2 separate regions of the Homo sapiens genome follow, and region 2 is linked to region 1. Evidence: promoter capture Hi-C in human tissues and cell types (Jung and others, 2019). All regions are on one chromosome and are shown on one strand. The core of a region is centred on a gene start or on the middle of the fragment in contact, and the rest is flanking DNA. Distances in the headings are between cores, read along the strand shown.

Region 1 (5,605 bases), core at 2,064-4,563:
ACAATAGTAGGCAGACATCACTTGTCCACAATATGTTCACTACCGAAGCTGCTCCTGAGAATCCACAATTGCAAAAGACTGACTCAGAATCTTGATCTCATGAATCAGCCTAACTTAAGTGCTTGCATTTGAGTGTAGTAAGAAAAAAATGGATAAAAACATACTTATAATCAGATTTTACTCTATCGAGGAAGGTCACATGTATTTCTGAGATCACATTCCTAGGAATGTTGACTGTCTGCAGAGAAGAATTGAAACACTTCCCTTGTCCATAGTGTGGTGTGACCTGAGGAATGGTCACAGAACTCTCCTCTCCATCTTTCCACCCTCTCTGGGCCAGGGGACCCACATTCTTTTAGTCAGAAACATTAAAATAGTAGAGTAAGTTGGCTTGAAGTGAATTTTTGTGTGAAATCTTTTCTCTGCCCTAGCCTAGTTTGTCCATGCACATTTGCACACAGGAAGAACATTTTTAGACCTGCCAGAATATGCAATGACAGGGTAAAAAATGCCGGAGGTTGACTGTGTTCATAGACATTGTGCTAAACACTCAACACTCCTGATCACACTGAATGCTTTTGACAGTCCTGTGAATTGAGGGCTATTATTATCCCCATTTTATATATGAGCGAGCAGAGGCCCAGACAGATTAACAAAGGTGCTCAGTGTCACCCAGGTATAGGTGGTGGGGCTTTACTGCCCTGCTCACCCACAGGGTGAAGAATGGGTAGGCCGGGATGACCCTGCCTAGGACAGCTTCATTCCACTTTGAATGAACGTGAGGCCGCAGAGCTCATAGCCTCTTTTTTTTTTTTTTTTTTTTTTGTTCTGTCTTTGCTGAATTCCTAGATCCTAGTCTAGGAAGAAAAATGTTAATGTGTGTGAGTATCTGTTTTAGCTGGAGTTGGTAGATTGGTTCTGAGGCCAGGCATTGAGCTGAGGCACTGAGCGTAAGCAGAGGGGAAGCTGACCTGGCATTCGAAAGACTCATGCTGCTGCCGGCAAAGCCGCTCTAAAATACATAATCCATAGAAATAAGCTGGCAGATCTGGCACTGGCTAGAAGTCACAGATTTATAAAAGCAGGTTGGTCAAAAGCATGGGCTCTTAAACCAGGCAGCCTGGGCTTGAGTCCCAACTCTGTCACTTATTGGCTCTGTGAACTTGAGCAAGTTGCTTCAACTCTCCATGCCTATTTGCTCATCTCTGAAATTGGGATGATAATAAAATTATCATCCTCAACAGAGCTGTTGTGACAATTAATTCAATTAATGTTTGTAAGTGCCTCCAGCACTGCCTGGCACCTAGGAAGGCACTATGCTAGGGTGTGTCAAATGAAACTGAAACATTGCCATGAAACCTATTAGGTTAGAAGGGAACCTTAAAATTCAAGGGTCACCACCATCCCAAAGTCTGAATGCCTTCTGTCACAGACCTGTCCAGTGATCACTCTTCCCCATGTGCACACCATAGGGAGCTGAGCTCCCTATCTCCCAGGTAGCCTGAGCAGCAGGGTGAGCTGGAGAGAGTGAGTGTGAGTATGAGCAGCAGGGTAAGCTGGAGAGAGTGAGTGTGAGTGTGAGCAGGAGGGTGAGCTGGAGAGAGTGTGAGTGTGAACAGGAGGGTAAGTGAGTGTGCACGTGGGCAGGCCTCTTACCATGGACAGTGTACCCCAGGGCATCTGCCAGCTGCTGACCAGTGCTCCCTTCTGCTCCAAACTGCAGGATCTCCAGGGGGAGGGACACACCAGCAGGAGAGATGACAAAGTTCGTCTCATTTCTACACGCGGCCACACTCTGGTAGAGGTGAAGTGCAAACTCAGTCTTCAGCAATGTCATTCCTTCACGGAGGTGGCCATTTGCTCGGAGGCAGCAAGAGTGAAAGAGGAAGAGGGTGATCAGGAAAGGCGGCATGGAGGCTGGGAGGGTTCCTGCAATTCAGAGGGAAGAGATGCAGGGTAGGCTGGAAGCTGGTGATGAAAGAGGGCCATGTCCCACAGAGGACTGGGACCCCCAGCTCTGTTTTTAGGGGCTAGGGACGGCTGAGGGAGAGATGCATTGAGCTGTCTTGGTTACCTACCCTGAGGCCCAGCCGTCTGGGCTGCAGAGCTGCACCCTCTTGTTTCAGCATTAGAAATACTCACTGTGGTCCTTTGGCAGCCAAACTGTGGGTCTGAAGATCTGCTTCGGCCACTTACTGGATGTGTGACTTTAGCAAAGCCCTGGTCAGATCAGAAGCAAAGCATTATGTTGGGAAAAGAAATGTAAGAGGTAATCCTACTCATTGTTCTTGGTATATAGTCAGCTTATAGCTGTGCTGTGTCTATCAGGAATAATAATAAATAATTATCTACTATGTTAAAAAGGACTTTGTACATTTGCAGTTAATCATCCCAACAATCTCACTAGTATCTGTTATTATATTTCATCTATAAAGAGGATGATTGAACCTTTGAGGCCCAGTGACTCATTTGTATGGGGAAAGAAACAGTGCTGTGACTCAAATCCTGGTCTTCTATGAGTGGTATATAAAATTTTGAGAATACCTATGTGAATTAAAATATTGATACATGAACTAATTGTACCTCGAATATCAGAATTCTTGTGATGCAAATTAGTCTCTAAAAAAGAATATTTTCACAAAGATAGTTCCTACCCCAGAAATGTACTCTTCCAAGGAAGAGAGATCATTAACTAGAAAATAATGCAAGAAGAGAAAGGCAAAGTAAAAAAATGTTTTCAACGACCATGCCACACATCCAGCCAGCAGCAGTTTTTGTTAAGTTGTCTGACTGTGGTATCATACCAAACTGATGTAAGAAGAGGTCCAGAGTCACTTCCTGGACTCACCAGTGAGCAGCTCACCCTGCTACTCACGCTCACACTCACTCTCTCCAACTCACCCTCCTGTAGAAGTTTACAAGCAAGGCCACTGAGCACGATGGTGCCTATTTTAGGTAAAGGTCCAAGATAGAAAACATCTTCTCTTTTTTCCAACCCTTCCTCCCTACAGCCAAGTACAAATGCAGTGCTTGGATGACCTTGGTACATAGGGCTCTCTCTCTCTCTCTTTCTTTCTATGTGTGTGTGTGTGTGTCCCAGCCCAGGGTCATTTGCAAAACTCTTAAGCCCCAGGGTTCTCACAGCTCTTATAACCTCCCATCTCCCACAAGAACACTCTCAGCAATCAGACCTTGATGCCCCTGGGCTCCCCATGAACAAATCCCTGTCATGGCTCACCTCGAATGAGCCACGTACTCACAGACTTTTGTATCACTGTTGCACGTTTCCTTGCTCGACTCTGTTCTTGTGGGTCTCCAGCATTCATGTGCTCCCCTTTTAAAAAAGTGGAGCAGAATCTGCTTTGAATCACAAGACAGCACAGAGAGGAAGCTGGCGATTGCCGTCTCTGCCGGCGATGTCTCTACCACTCGGTCCAAATTCCTGGAGCCTGGAGGTCCTGCAGAGAGCCAGGAGAAGCAGCCCAGCCCAGGGCAGCAAAGCCCAGATCGGGAACAGAGCAGGGCCGTGGGGGGAGAGCCAGCCACACCCGTCAAGCCTTCTTAGGCTTGTGACCTGGTTGTACCAGCAAGGAACCCCTCATCCAGCCCTTTGTCACATTGAGGAATTCCACTGATAACTTTGCTTGTTGGGCTTTTGCTGGGTACCAGGTACCTAATGCTTCCCCCCTCCTCCTGTGAAGAAAACAATAAATCAGTCATTGGGCATGACTTAAAACTTTCAGCAAATGAAAAGAAATTCTGCAAAAGAGAAAACAACGCAAGATATGGCACGATCAGTTCGGAGCAGGGTGACTTGCCTCATTTATTATTTATCAAAGTGAATGCACTAATTTATATATGTAACTTGAGTTATTAATAATCTGGTTCTTCTCAGATACAACAGTTCGTAAGTCCAATGACTAATTTGAGAAAGAGACCATGTTGTCAACGAGTAGACACATATTTTTGAAAAATATGAGCAGGTTCTGTCAAAAGTCTGTCCTTGTGATCAATTCAGAATTACATACATTTTTATTAAGGACTTAGGCCTTGTATTAAGTTCAAAATAGATGGTAGCTTATATGTGGTTACAGATTAAAGAAGAACTGAATGCAATTCTTAATAATTATCTCTCAGGCATCTGTAAGTGTTAATATTTGAAAATCAATGGACTGTTTTCACTTGACAACTACCCCTGTAATCAGTGGGTAATTCACTTTAAAGAGTTTTATTGCTGACACCCAAACCTGGGATTGTTTACAGGTCTTAGGATAGTTACAGTTCTATAATTGCATCACATAAAATATCCCCAAATCTTTACTTTAGATTCAATGCAATTGTGAATGGACAGGGTATTCTCTAAGCCATAGTATGAAAGGAGAATAAACAGGTTTAACTTATTCTATAGCACCCAGAGAGGGCATATCATTCATCCATCTGTCCATCTGTCCATCCATCCATGCATCCATCAATCCATCTGTCCATTCATCTGTCCATCCATCCGTCTGTCCGTGCATCCATCCATCCATCCATCCATCCATCCATCCATCCATCCACCTATCCATCCATCCAACAAATATCTCTTGATCACCTGCTTGGTCACAAATCACTGTGCTGCTAGGTTCTGGGCATATGGCAGTGAACCAGTAACCTGGGCTCAGCTTCTATGGGACTTAGAGTCTTGCTCACTGCCTGCGTATTTTAGATGTTGATGGTGATGGAGCGGCAGTAACTTGTGAGGACTGCCTTGTCACATTGTGAGCTGCCTGTAGCAGGAATTCCAGGGGAAACAGCTGATTCACTATTTGCCAGTGGTAGCAGTGGAGAGAAGCTTATAAAAAGATTTCCCAAATTAAAAAAAGGTTGTTTGTGTAACTTCTACAAACATTTCTTTCTAACTCTATGAATATGCCATTCTAACTTGCTTTTAAGAAGCATCCTTCGGGAAAAATGCTAGGGAAATTTAACATACAGGATATATTTTCTATATAGGCTAAACATTTCAAAGTGTGAATGAATGAAAGATGAACTGCAAGTGATTTTTCTTCTGTGTACTCAGCCTTGAACCTGGGTAAGTCACTGTGGTCTCTGACCATTTAAGCAGAGATTATCATGTTTATTTCTATCTTGCTGGGATGGATGTTCATTATACTGCTAAGTGAGGCTCCATTCTTGGAGATATTTATTTGTAATTTTAACAACATATATAGAGAGCATTACTGAGCACTTACTGTGTTCCAGCTACTCTATTAGACCCTGTCCATTCACAATTGCAATGAATCCTCACAGCAATCCTATGAGGAATGTATTATCATTCCCATTTTGCAGATGAAGAAACTAAGTCTGAAGAGCTTAAGATCTTGCCTAAGGTCCCACCAGGCCAAGCTGGGGTTTGAACCTAGGGCCACCTTGACACTAAGGCACATGCCCTTCATCACAGTCTTGGTGCTGTCAGGAGCCAAGGGATGAGGTCTCTTAAAATCCCTCTTGGCTGTAGGATTCTAAGCCTTTCGATGGCCAGCCCAGACTGTTTTGCTCGTAATGCGTGTTCACTTTGCCCACATTTACCAGGAATGCTGTGGTGAATCACCTGTAGGTAGACTGC
Region 2 (5,309 bases), core at 2,141-4,640, 460 kb before region 1:
TGTGTGTGTGTGTGTGTGTGTGAAAAATAGAGACTGATATCTAGAGACTGATTTCTAGAGTGAAAATAAAATGCTTCCCCAATAAGGGGCAGAGTACATAAAAGACAAGTCTTATTAACAACAGATCGGACCAGGATGGAATTCTTGTATGGAAGGCAAGATCCAAGGCAGAGGACAGAGGGCGGGGACATGTCCTGCAGGCCAGGCTGGTACTGCCCGCTTGGCAGCACTCCCAGTCTGGAGTTTGAGGAAGAGGTTCAACCCAGAGGAGCCAGCCTCAGCAAACATTCGTCTCTAATACGGATCAGTGTGGAGCCCAGAGGCTAATGTCCCCTCTGACTGGGTATCACAGAGAAAAGCCTGTCAGCTTCCTGCCCCTGGAGAAGGGCTCTTCAGGCCTGTTCCCTGTGGACTGCTTTTTTTCTGGCTCTATTGTATTTGGGAAGTTCTCACTCATTCCCCACAATGCCTCCTCCTAGCTAAGCCCCTATTCATTGACTCAGGCCCTTGCCTCTACCGGAAAAGCCTTTCACAGAGATTCCAGGGCTCACGTCTGTGTTTAGGGGGAAAAAAATCTTCCAGTTTCCTCTTTGTAGTTTAAAATGCTCTCAAAGTCCCTACTGATTTGAAGGCTTGGGGGCCAAATGAGCTCAAGTGTGAACATGGACGGTACTGTCATTATTAATAGTGATAATAATAATGTCACCTGGGTGCGGTGGCTTATGCCTGTAATCCCAGCATTTTGGGAAGCCAAGGTGGGTGGATCACCTGAGGTCAGGTGTTCGAGACCAGCATGGCCAACATGGTGAAAACCCATCTCTACTAAAAAATACAAAAATTAGCCGGGTGTGGTGACGGGCGCTTATAACCCCAGCTACTCAGGAGGCTGAGACAGGAGAATCACTTGAACCCGGGAGGCGGAGGTTGCAGTGAGCCGAGATCGCGCCACTGCACTCCATCCTGGGCGACAGGGTGGGACTCTGTCTCAAAAAATAATAATGTCAGCTGCTAATTATTGAGCTCCTAATATGTTCCAAGTGCTGTCATAAGTGCCTTAGATGCGGCATCTCATTTAGGCTGCCCAAGAGGTATCTCTTATTATTCCCTTTCTGCAGATGAGGAGATAAGAGCTCAGAAAGGTTAAATCAACACACAAGATGGCACAGCTAGTAAGAGGCTGAGCTGTGACTTAAACCCAGGTTGTTCAAGCCCTTGTTACTGATATTTTTAAGTTTCAAGTCAACCTTTTTGGGAAGGCTTTGGAATAAGAAGTCTTGCTTGCCACTCACAGCAGAAGCAATGGGTAGGGTGTTCTCTAAGCTGCCCTGCATGTTCTGGTGAGTTACAGATGGTGAAAACAGGAACATTTTTCTTGTTCTCTTAAGAACATCTGGCTTGACTGAAACAAGTGGCAATGCCTGCCCCGTGGCAATGACTTTCAAACCAAACCCAAGCTCATAAACATCCTTTGGCCACTTCCCCGAGTTCCAGAGCATGTAACTGGCAGTTGTGCTGTACCAGGGCATGGGGCAGGAGGCCAGCTGTTGGCTACCCTTTTGTAAACAGGTCCTGTGGGAGGGCTCTCAGCATCTGTGGAGCCTTGAGATCAGAGTCCCATCCTGCATTGCCCAGGAGAAATCTCTCGGCTCCGTAGGTGAGAGATGTAAGCTCTGAGACCCCAGCCTGCCTGTGCGTGGGCAGAGTCTGCCCTCTGGGCCTCCACCTGCCAACCCCACCATTCTGCCACCACTGCCCTTAGCCAATTTCATAGCCAGGAAATACTAGAAGAGTAAAGGTAGAGAGGTATCGCAAAAGGAATGGGAAAAAGAAACAGTTAAAGAACTCACAATTGCATCTATCCAATATGATGCCTTTGTGCAAATCAGAAAAAATACCTCTTCTGCAATATGCTTTTCTGCCACCTGCCAGAACATTATCATAATGCAGATACAAATATCCCATCATTCTGATCCGAATGGCACTCCCTAGAGCTGTGCAGTGCACACCTTGTGTCCCTGAAGGAGCCTTGGCTTCCTCTGATGGGTGCAGAGCTTAAATAACTCTACCATCCTCCTCCTTTATTCCCTACTTGCAAATCTCCCCCGTTTCTCCAAGTAGGCAAGGATATCTGTCCTGCAATGCAATAAGCACAATGCAAATGGTCTCCTAAGCTTCCTGAAACCTGCCCCCCACAAAAGGGAAAAGAGCAATTCATCTGTCAAGGGATTTTTTTTCTTTTTGCCACTCCCCAGGATCGGGGCAGTCAGAGGAAGACAATTTGGATGCCAAAATGTTGGAATCTCCAATATTTTCAAAAGTTTGGAAAGATCATGGTCCAGGAAATGCAGGCCCCGAGATAGTGGTGTTTGTGAGAGCAGGGAGGGCAAGGGAGAAAGGAGTTTCGTGATGTGTTGGGAGAGGCGGAGACAGCAATAATGCCCATCCTAGAATTAGGCTTTCTCCTGCAGGGGTTTGTGTTCCCCACTCCTTACAGCTGGTCTTCCTGTGGGTCTCCTCTTTCTAGGAGTGGCTATGAATCTGCATGTAAAGACTTTGTCCCTCATGACTTGGAGGTCCAGATTCCTGGAAGAGTCTTTTTGGTCACTGGAGGAAACAGCGGCATTGGCAAAGCAACTGCCCTTGAAATCGCCAAGCGAGGTAAGCAGCTGCTAACACGTGTGTCCACTGAGCCCCACGGCCAGACTGCGGCCGGTCCACACTGAGGAGGGCACCCTGTGTCACAGGCAGGCCAGGAAGTCCTGGACGGCGATCCCATGGTTCTGGGCACAGCTGCCAGCTTTCTGAGTTTTGAGCTCCAGGTGGCTAGAGCAACAGGAGCCCTTTCCTCAACACTTAATTAATTCTCAGGCGAGCTTGGGGTCCTGCCCACGTGTCCCAGTGTTTTCTGATTAAGAACAGCGAGGGGCTCAAGCAAACCCTGGACATCAGAATCCCCAGTGGAATTTAATTAAAAAAACAAAAACAAAAACATGAACACCTGGTCTCTAACTCATGTCTTCTCAATGAGACTCTCCTGGGGTGAGAGACAAGGGGAGGGGGAGCCTCAAAGTCCACTGCAATTTGGATGTGGATGGTAGTTATGAACCAAGGCCCCCAAAATACCTGGAGAGAGGAGTGCATTGAACTAAACTTCCTCCTTGCTGGGGTCCAGCCTCCAGGGCTAGAGCAGCCTCCCGCTTCCCTCCCCTAAGCTTGACTATAAAGAGGTGCTTCAGGTGCACTGTAAAGTCTTCAGTCAGCAGAAGTCTTCCTCATGGTAAATGCCAGAATTTCCTGCATGAGCTCAACGATCCTGGGTCACCAAATGGCTCTGCAGTGGCTAGAAAAGTTTGCTGCATCTCTCCAGAGCCTCTTCAGGAAAAATGGATGTTCCAGCAGAAGGTGGGGAACTAGGTTGTGAATTTATCACTTTTTAAGATGCTGAAGATGTTTTCTTTTTTCCTCTCTCTAAATCCAAGTTAGGCATTTTTCAGGGGACTATTATATCATTTGAAGCTTTATTTAATTATCTGCCAAGTCAGGGAGAGGATTAATTGCATCTTAGCAGCTGGGAAGCACTCTGAAGTGCGGAGAGGAGGAGAGAAGAGGGGCTAGTGTTGTGGTTAGCCTGTAGCCTCCCATGAAACACCCCATTTAATCAAGTGGGTGATTTTTAGTAAAGAAAGCAGACTCCATAACGATTCGTTCTTAGCTGCCACGGCGAAGGCATTCTGCTTTAAATTGACCTTGATTGATGATGGTGTGGCATTTGCTGGGATAATATGAGGGCTGCTGATGGACTCAACATTCAGTCAATACTTGAGTCTCTACTACATGCTAGGCAAGTGGCTGTCTACTTTGGCTGAACATTACATCACCAGGGGAGCTTGTAAAACATACCCAGTCCTGGGCCTATCGCCTAGATCTTTAAAAGCTCCCTACATGAGTCTAAAGTGCAGCCAGGTTTAACACATCTGGGTCAGCTACTATGCTAGATGCTAGGGAGGCATATGTGACCCAGATCAATGTTTCTTATCCTTGATGTGTTCAGGCCCTCAAAAAATCAGGATGTTATTCCAGACGCACTGTCAGCACAGGTAGGCAATAAGGTTCCAGCACCTCCCTCACCATCGCCCTTGCTGCTCTTAACTCTGGGAACCACCCATCTAGGCTTAACAGAAGAGTGTCAACTGTGAGCCCATATGTCTTCATTTTTCATTAGGAAGAGCTGGTTTCTGTAGCTCTCGCTGTAACTCACAGATGGTTTCATTGAATTCCACCAGGTGGCACAGTTCACCTGGTTTGTCGAGATCAAGCCCCAGCAGAAGATGCCAGGGGTGAGATCATCCGGGAGAGCGGTAACCAGGTGAGCAGCTCCTCACCCCTCCTGCTGGGTTTCCTTGCCTCCATGGTCAGCTGTGAGGAGGCTGGACTCCTACCCGCTTTCCCTGGGTTGAAGAGGGCCTGTGTTTGTGCTTCTGCTTTGGAAGCAGCCTCGGCCAGCAGGGAGCTGGGCCCTGCTTTTGAATGGCTAGGTTTGACAAGGGGATAAGTGGGGGCACTGAGGCTTGACCGCATGGTCCTGAGCTGCCTGTGAAACCAGCAGAGGCCAGCAGGCAGAGGCCCATTACACTGGACAGTGATACTTCCAGTCTCCTCACCTCAGAGGGAGCCCACATCAGCAACACACAGCAAGGGTCACCCGGGTGCCACGGAGCCATGCATTGACCCGATGTGCTCTAATAAAGAGAAACACCGGCAGCATTTGGGTCTTGATGAGAGCTACTTTCTGACACGAGCCTTCAGAGCTGCCTCACATTTTGTGGTCTTTCTGTTCTGAAAGAGCTGGAACCAGGATTGGCTACATAATTAGTGGGGCTCGGTGCAAAATGAAAATGCAAGACCCTTGTGTAAAAGTTATTTAGAATTTCTACACAACAAAGGCAGGACATTAAACCAAGCTTGAGGCCTTTCCAGTCGCAGGGCGTGTGCAGCTGTATAGATCATATTCCCATGATCCATCGTGTAGCCATAAGGCTGCCCTGAATGGAAAACCCTGACCCCCAAAAGGACCCTCAGTCATGGCTGCTCGCTCACTGTCACTAAAGAACATCCTCATTCCATTCCTACCTCTTCTCTAGGAGACCCCACAATTGGAGGGCCTGTAGGAGGGAAGCTGGGGAGGGACAGACAGTACCCACCCTCAGGCATGGACCCTGGTCAAAGAGAAGAATGCCCCTCTCTAGGATGGAATATTTTGCATCAACTTTGAAATAACATTTTCACACCAAGTGTCTGTTCCTTTCCCT

What was found. Contacts are between HindIII fragments. The study calls those that stand out against the background at their distance.
Region 2: a contact is called between a fragment that was not itself captured here and the fragment with the promoter of SERPINE3 in region 1, in 2 of the 25 tissues and cell types used here (lymphoblastoid cells and mesendoderm cells).

The regions. Positions count from the first base shown.
Region 1 is chr13:51,337,399-51,343,003 of GRCh38, reverse strand. It overlaps SERPINE3 (serpin family E member 3), which reads right to left and starts at 3,313. Exons shown (of 10, transcript NM_001386375.1): 1 at 3,261-3,313; 2 at 2,143-2,220; 3 at 1,657-1,929. The coding sequence starts at 1,912. It also overlaps a transcript of INTS6 not described here. The HindIII fragment of the contact is 9,065 bases long and covers 2,245-5,605 here.
Region 2 is chr13:51,796,883-51,802,191 of GRCh38, reverse strand. DHRS12 (dehydrogenase/reductase 12) reads left to right here. Exons shown (of 9, transcript NM_001377533.1): 2 at 2,525-2,658. The coding sequence starts at 2,533. Among named protein-coding and RNA genes, the nearest start is that of DHRS12, 4.6 kb to the left of the region's middle. RefSeq lists enhancers at 4,461-4,540, 4,611-5,139. The HindIII fragment of the contact is 5,377 bases long and covers 702-5,309 here.